2 separate regions of the Homo sapiens genome follow, and region 2 is linked to region 1. Evidence: promoter capture Hi-C in 16 types of primary human blood cells and fetal thymus (Javierre and others, 2016). All regions are on one chromosome and are shown on one strand. Each heading gives the region's core, a stretch centred on a gene start or on the middle of the fragment in contact. The rest is flanking DNA. Distances are from core to core; before and after follow the strand shown. Region 1 holds the start of KIF27 (kinesin family member 27). Region 2 overlaps TLE4 (TLE family member 4, transcriptional corepressor).

Evidence for each region. Contacts are between HindIII fragments. The CHiCAGO score rates a contact against its expected background, and 5 or more counts as called.
Region 2: a contact is called between a fragment that was not itself captured here and the fragment with the promoter of KIF27 in region 1, in 1 of 17 cell types (non-activated CD4 T cells). The highest score is 5.3, in non-activated CD4 T cells.

The regions. Positions count from the first base shown.
Region 1 is chr9:83,919,443-83,923,359 of GRCh38, forward strand. It overlaps KIF27 (kinesin family member 27), which reads right to left and starts at 1,990. Exons shown (of 18, transcript NM_017576.4): 1 at 1,929-1,990. LOC105376335 (serine/arginine repetitive matrix protein 1-like) reads left to right here and starts at 1,459. Exons shown (of 3, transcript XM_011519284.2): 1 at 1,459-1,819; 2 at 1,912-2,256. The coding sequence starts at 1,459. RefSeq lists enhancers at 1,522-2,271, 2,886-3,390 and silencers at 1,593-1,972, 2,003-2,152. The HindIII fragment of the contact is 5,103 bases long and covers 1-3,917 here.
Region 2 is chr9:79,579,825-79,583,741 of GRCh38, forward strand. All of the region lies in intron 4 of TLE4 (TLE family member 4, transcriptional corepressor), which reads left to right. Among named protein-coding and RNA genes, the nearest start is that of TLE4, 9.8 kb to the left of the region's middle. The HindIII fragment of the contact is 4,336 bases long and covers 1-3,917 here.

The DNA of each region.
Region 1 (3,917 bases), core at 740-3,239:
ATGATGAAAAGTAATGAATTTGAGGTGAGGTTAGGTTCTTTGGAAAAGCTGCTGAGTCTTGAAGATTACCATTAAGTAACACAGACAACTAGACTGAAATAATATTTTATTAATAACACTAACAACAATGAATTGATAATATTCACTACCCTTGAAAAAAAAAAAACCATGGCCCAGCACGGTGGTTCACATCTGTAATCCCAGCACTTTGGGAGGCCAGGGCGGGTGGATCACTTGAGCCCAGGAGTTCGAGACCAGCCTGGGCAACATGGAGAAACCCTGTCTCTACTAAAAATACAAAAATTAGGCAGGCATGGTGGCGTGCGCCTGTAATCCCAGCTACTCAGAAGGCTGAAGCGAGAGGATCCCTCCTGAAAACAAAACAAAACAAATGTGAGCCACGATGCCCAGCCTCATTTCTTGGGGTTTTTAATGGTAATATCTATAAAGAATTTGGTTATAAAGGCAACTGAAACTTATTCTAAGCATTAAAAAAAATAATAATGGGGCCGGGCACAGTGGTTCACACCTGTAATCCCAGCACTTTGGGAGGCCAAGGCAGGTGGATCGCTTCAGCCCACGAGTTCCAGACCAGCCTGGGCAACATGGTGAAACCCTGTCTCTACTAAAAATACAAGAATGTGCCAGGCTGTGGTGACGCACCTGTAGTCCCAGCTACTTGGGAGGCTGAGATTGGAGGATCGCTTGAGCCCGGGAGGTTGAGGCTGCAGTGTGCCACTGCACTCCAGCCTGAGTAACAGAGCGAGACCCTGTCTCAAAACAAAACAAACAAACAATAGTAATGGTCCACAAACATAGGGCTTGTAAAACATCAATATACAAGAAATAAAGTTTTTACACAATCCATAGCACTTATACTTCAGATTCTGATCAATTATAGTCATCAGAAACATACGTATTATGTTGCCAATAAATGATTTAAAAAAAAGCAAAATCTGATTGGTCGTATTTAAGTATACTCAACGGGTTTTTGAAATCTGAGCAAAGGCAAGAGAAATATTGAATCCCTCATGTCATGTCACTGGTCAGGAATGAGTGTCTCCAAAAACCGTTGCCATCCCGTACCCTTGATTTCCCAGAAAGCAGTGGTTGTCTTAAATGTGTGGTTTGTTAATTATTTTCATAAAAAACTTGCCAGTAGATGGACAGTAAATCGCATACGGAGCTCAGAAAAGGCCCCAAATGCGTAAAGACGACAAAAGAGTAAAGAAGGGCAAACAACAAGGATTTTCAACACTGGAGACTTAAAAGGTGTTACTTAAAAGGTGTTTCAAAGAAAGAATCTGGGCGCTTTGCTCTTTATAGTCACCTGCCTCCGAGGGAGGGAGCTCTCGGGCTTGAATGTGCCCAAGGTTCAACCTCTACGGTAGGAAATGCGCCCAAGTTTCAACCTCTACGGTGGGAAATGCGCCCAAGTTTCAACCTCTACGGTGGGAAATGCGCCCAAGTTTCAACCTCTACGGTGGGAAAAAGACGCCTGCGATAAAACAAAGCGCTCGGTGGTGGTGGCCCTCGCGTCGCACCTCACGCCGTGCAGCGACACGAGACGAACACAGGGTGCGCTCTGAAAGGCCGGGTCCCGCGTTCCGGTCGATCGGTGTTCCCCGGGACCCGCTCCTCAGGGCTGACCCAACTTCCTCCGGAAGGGGCGCTCTGCCTCTAGTCGCTCGCCGGCTCCCAGCCCCGACCCCAGACCCCTCGGACGCCCCCATAGGCCTAGCTGGCGCCCCAACCGCCCACCCTCCGCTACCCACCCGCGGCGGCCCCGACCCCAAGCCGGAGCCTACTAGTCCCAACGGCCGGCTGGGGGCGCGGGAGCGGCGGGCGCGGCGGGCTGGAGGGCGGGCACCGCGAAGGGAGGGCGCCCCACTTCCCCGCACCGCCCGCCAGGCCCGCCGAGCACTGACCGGCTCGGGACAGCCCAGGCCCCTGTCGGCGAGCGCTGGACTCCTCAGCTTCGCTCTGCCACACCGCGCAGCCGCCGTCCGCGTCTTTTGTTGTCGCGAGTTCTCCTGGCAACCGGCGAAGCCCGCCTCCCGCCGCGTCCTCTCCTGGATGCCGCGTCCTGGCCCCGCCCCCATCCTGGCCACGCCTCCAAGCCCGCCGCGCAGGAGTCCTGCGTCCCCAGGAAGTCCGCAAAGGGCCGGCCCCTGGGCTTGCCTGCAAATCCGAGTTGTGTCCCACCAACGCGCTGGGACCGGTCTGTGAGGCCTGAGCGCAAGCATCTTTCTACGGGTTCGTGAAATGAGTGAGAACGATTCCACACCGTGTTTCAATATCTTAGCTACCAATTCAGTTTATTTTTATTTTTATTGAGTAAAACTTGCCTAACATAAACCATCTTAAAACTCACAATTCAGTGGCGTTTAATGCATTCACAGTGTTGTGCAACCATCACCTCTGTATATAGTTCAGAAACATTTTCATAACCCCAAAAGAAAATCCCCAAACCAGTTAGCAGTCATTCCTTCTGGTTCCCCTCTCCCCACAACCCCAGCCAGCCACTAATCTACTTTCTGACTCTGTGATAGCTTTACCTATTCTGGGCATTTCTTTATTGATGGAATCATTCAGTATATGACCTTTTGTGTCTAGCTTCTTTTGCTTAATGTTTTCAAGATGCAGTCATGTTGTAACATCTATCAGGACTTCTTTTCTTTTTTTTCTTTTCTTTTTTTTGAGACCGAGTCGCGCTCTGTCGCCCAAGCTGGAGTGCAGTGGCGTGATCTCGGCTCTCTGCAACCTCCACCTCCCGGGTTCAAGCGATTCTCCTGCCTTAGCCTCCCGAGTAGCTGGGATTACAGGCGCGTGCCACCACGCCCGGCTAATTTTTTGTATTTTTAGTAGAGACGGGGTTTGTTTCACTGTGTTAGCCAGGATGGTCTTGATCTCCTGACCTCGTGATCTGCCCGCCTCGGCCTTCCAAAGTGCTGGGATTACAGGCGTGAGCCACCACGCCCGGCCCTTTAGATGGAGTTTCGCTCTTATTGCCCAGGCTGGAATGCAATGGCGCCATCTAGGCTCAACGCAACCTCCACCTCATGGGTTCAAGCGATTCTCCTGCCTCAGCCTCCGGAGTAGCTGGGATTACAGGCATGAGCCACCCTGCCCGGCCCTATCAGGACTTTTTAGGGCTGAAAAAATTCCATTGTATGGATATAGACATACCACATTTTGTTTATCCATTCTTCAGCTGGTGGTGGACATTTGGGCTGTTTCCATGCTGCTATGGACATTCACATACAATATTTGGATGTCTGTTTTCAGTTCCTTTTTTTTTTTTGAGATGGAGTCTCGCTCTGTTGCCCAGGCTGGAGTGCAGTGGCGCTATCTCAACTCACTGCAAGCTCCGCCTCATGGGTTCAAGCAATTCTCCTGCCTCAGCCTCTGGAGTAGCTGGGATTACAGGCATGTGCCACCACCACGCCTGGCTAAGTTTTCTGTATTTTTAGTAGAGACGGGGTTTCACCATGTTGGTCAGGCTGGGCTCGAACTCCCGACCTCAGGTGATCCGCCCACCTTGGCCTCCCAAAGTGCTGGGATTATAGGCGTGAGCCACCGCGCCGAGCCTGTTTTCAGGTCTTTTAGGTATGGACGTAAGAGTGGAATTGCTGGGTCGTATGGTAATATTTAACTTTACCAATTTAGTTTTAAATGCTTTAATGCCTCCTGTTTTTAGTAGCACAATCTAAGCATCTTCAAAAACCCTTCCTTCTCTCATGAAATATAGGAATGAAGGTGGGGGAAAAAAGCTGACTATTTTATTTATAGTTTTTATTTTTTTTTCTTTTAACTGAATTATTTAAAATTTTAAAAATTCAGTCTGGGCACAGTGGCTCACACCTGTAATCTCAGCACTTTGGGAGGCTGAACTGGGAGGGTCACTTGAGCCCAGG
Region 2 (3,917 bases), core at 634-3,133, 4.3 Mb before region 1:
ATAGGATATCATAATCATAGCCTCTTTGGTCGATGGTAAATGATGATAAATGACATTAGGAACCTTTTAGCAAACTGTAATAACTACAAGGAGGGAAGCAGTATGGATTTGCATTGTATCTGATACCCTCTAGTACCAAGTGGATTGCCAATACTGCTTGTTTAGCATTTTCTAAGGGCAATAAGATATTGATTTCTGACTTACAAGGAACAGCTCTATTTTCACCATTGAAAAGTATTGCAGGTTGTTAAGAAGAAATTGACTTGAAGAGGCCGACTGCTGCCCATCATGGAGCAAATAAAGCAAAACTGCCGAAGCATGGTGGAGCAGCGAGACGGGCCCTCAGCAATTTGTTGCTATTAATTTACCATGCTCGACAGCAAATCAATCGGCATCTACTTCATCTGCTGGAGAAAATGCTGTCCAGGGCAGATAAAAGGCTCGGCATGGTACAGAGAATAGACTGGATTGGCCAAAAGCAGGCTGCAGTTAATGTGTAAATAAGTGAAATCAAGGCCACTGTTGCAGAGGAAGCTGTTGTTAATTAGGTTGGTGTTTTTTAGTGAACTATTTTAGAAAGCAGCTAGGATTTGGAGAGTAAGAAGAGATTTATTGAGATTGAAGTAATACATGACTGGCATGACATTCTAGCCTTGAGTGTACTTGAATCTAGGGTGCAGTAAATTTATTTGGGGACACTGCTTGCTATGAAGTTTGTTGAAAGTTCATTTTAGACCACATTTCCCTTATGATAACTTTTTTTTTCAACCTTGCCAGTTTTTTGCACATCTTCTGTCTTATTGTGTACTCTTAGATTTAGAAGAGTAGATGGAGGAGTAGGTGTTTTAGTATGGAGGCACAAATGTGTCTGTTATATTCTTACCCAGTGCCTTTTTTTTTTTCAGAGATAGGTATAATTGAACTCTTGTATAATAATGAGAGTGAACTATCATGGAAGATGGGGTGTTCTAGCTGAAAGTAACTAATAAATGAAGATTTTGCTGACAGAACTTTATCTTGCTTCAGAAATATTAGGAAATAACAATCTAGAGGGCCTGAATAGTGGGTAGATACTACTAGATTATAAAATCTTAAAGATGACAAGTGAAATTTTGATGTCTGCATAAACTTCAGATACAATTATAAGACTATGTGTGTGGGGGTGGGAAGGGTTCTTGTGTTTTTGGTTTTCATTAAGGTTTAAAGCCACCTTTTCTAATTTAAGATTATTTACACGCTGATAATATTCCACAATTAATGTTAACGGAGTGAAGGGTATTGGTGGTGTTTTTTCCCCTTTACCTCTCATTTGGGCATTTTAAAATAGGAGGCCAACTTCATTTACTCCTGTTTAGTAAATCTAAATGAGTGTAGGTTTTAAATTAGATTTTTTCCCAAAACCCTTCAGAAGGTCTAGTATTAGGGCAGTTGATAAGTAAGTGGAAGCACCTTGGGCAGGACCCAGTGACCTGTCCTTTTACTTATTACAGCACCTGCACGGGAAGCAGATCTGGAGGATGAAATTTAACCTGTTACAGTGTGTGTATGTTTTAGGGTGTGTGTTTTCCGAATACTGTGGGGAGTTCCCTTTTTCCTTCTCCCATGATGGATTCTTTTGTCTTTCTAGAGATACCATAGGAGGATATCTGGATTTTTCACCTAAGGCAGTGATTCTTGAGTGAAATTGGAATTTCCTTTCAATAGAAGTAAACATTTATTATATATCTGGCTTGCGCTTACCACTGGTCTGGGCACACTGCCAAAATTCTTATCGTTAGTTCTCATAATGATCCTAAGACAGGGATTATATCCAATCAAAAGTTGATTAAACAGGGTCAGCTCTGCACAAGGTGATACAGCTAATAGTTGGTGGATTCAGGACTTCAAATAAATTTATGTGGGAGGATATCTCCTGGGAGATGGGTTTGCTATGGGTTAGAGATTCAGGCCCCAGTTCATTCCTGAAATAGAGAGTCCCTGAACTTTAGGCTCATACGCAGAACCTCTTGAGTTGGGGGATTCTCTGCAACTGCCTAGAGTCCATGGATGGCTCAGCCTGCCCTCTGCTTGCAGACTGCTTTCAGTGGGTGAGAGGGTGAGGTTGCTTTCACTCGGAATCTCCCACATGTGGGCTAGGGAAGCTGCTTGCTTATCAAGATGGAATTTGCTTCCTCCCTAGGCAACCTATTTCTCATTTGTTTACAAACTTGTTCTTCTCTTTAACTTTTATCTTTTCCTGTGGCTTATGAGAGTGCCTACAGACAAGGGGCTGTTTGTTAATCACCATCTTGTGGGCTTTTGAAGGGGGAAGCTGGGAGGGGAAAATGTGATGTTTTGTAGCCTCTTTGTAGTTTAGAAAGAGGTTCGTCGATGCAGGAAATCACACAACTCAGTTTTAAATGAAGGCAGATGTTTTGCTTTTACTGTTAAAAGAATTTCTTTGCAGCATTCAAACAAAAGGATAGTTCCTTTTCACTGCCCCTTAATCCCTGCTGGATATTATTTATTTGTATTTATTATTTTGATGGGCAAAGTTCTTTGTATCTAGGTATATATCACTTTGATCTGTGTAGGAATGATGGACCGGACTAATGAGCTACATCTCTAGGTGCTGTTGCAGCACTGGTGAAGGAGACAATACAAGCACCAGCCCATTGTTCTTCACATTCTTCATTTAATCTTTGCTTTCCTAGAATACATCTTTTTTATTTCTTCTTTTTTTTCTTGTGTTATAAGATAGGTAGAGGAAACCAGTTGGGAATTAAATGTTTAAAAAATGCATTTATAAGTTATTTGTGTTTGTTTTTAATGTGGCTTTTTTTTTTTTTTTTTGCCTTTGATGTGATTCGATGGTTTGGTTTACCACTTCTGGACAGCAATAATGTATTTGGTGGCTAGAGAAAAGAGGGACAGGGATGTGAGTTCTAGAAGGCACTTTCTTGATCCCTCTACACACCCTCTTAAAATGACTCCAGCGTTCCAGCAATGGTGGTAGGTTCAGTGGTCCTATACTAGCTAAGTTATTACCAGTTTTGTAAGCTGGGCTGTTGGAGAGAAGCAGGGGGGCAGCACATTTACGCATGGGCAATGGAGTATTTACACTGATAATGACAGTTTGCAAGGCTTAGGACTTGTTCAAAGTAAGTATACTGCGAACAGTTTATGAAATTATTACTCTAAAGAGGAAGGGCCTCAGAAGTTTTAGTCAGAAGCAAGAGTTAGAGCTGTTTTGTCTTTGCCTTAGTAATAGCTCTCAGTGGTAGTTGTTTTCTATCTATGGAGAGGGATTTAGCTGGCATTCATCACCACAAATCTATATACCCTCTCTCTTTTCATTGGAACTTACCCAGCATTTATGCCAGGCTGTTGCTATTTCTATATCATTGACCCAAAACTTATCCCTGGAGAGCTGCACGTGTAACCCTTATTCCATCCAGGGGTGACACATGGGCAGGGTGTGGATTTTCTTAGCTGGTTCATCAAATAAGCAGAAGAGAAGTACTCTGGGATACCCCTTAGGTACTCTGTCCTCTGGTGAGTGGATCGCACTGTCATCTCTTTTGAGGATTTGCCCACACACATTTCAAGAATTGTATGGTGGAGGCAGCTTCTGCGTTTCACGGAATGAAAGGATAACTTCTCTCCCGGTGCGAGACAATACTCTATCCCCAACCTGGGCTGGCTGTGGTGTGCTTGGGACCTCTGCAGGGCCCTGTTGCTTGCAGCAACCTAGGCAAAGTGAGAGGTTGGGGAAGGAGGAGGGGGGATATTGGCTTTTTCATTTCTTAGCAGGCTTATTTAACTCATTATTATTATTATTATTATTGTAATTTGGGTTCTGTCCTTATTTTCGAACTATGTATTCTGTTTCTGAAGGTCTGTGGATGATTTTGGTTATTGAATTTGAAACTGCAAGA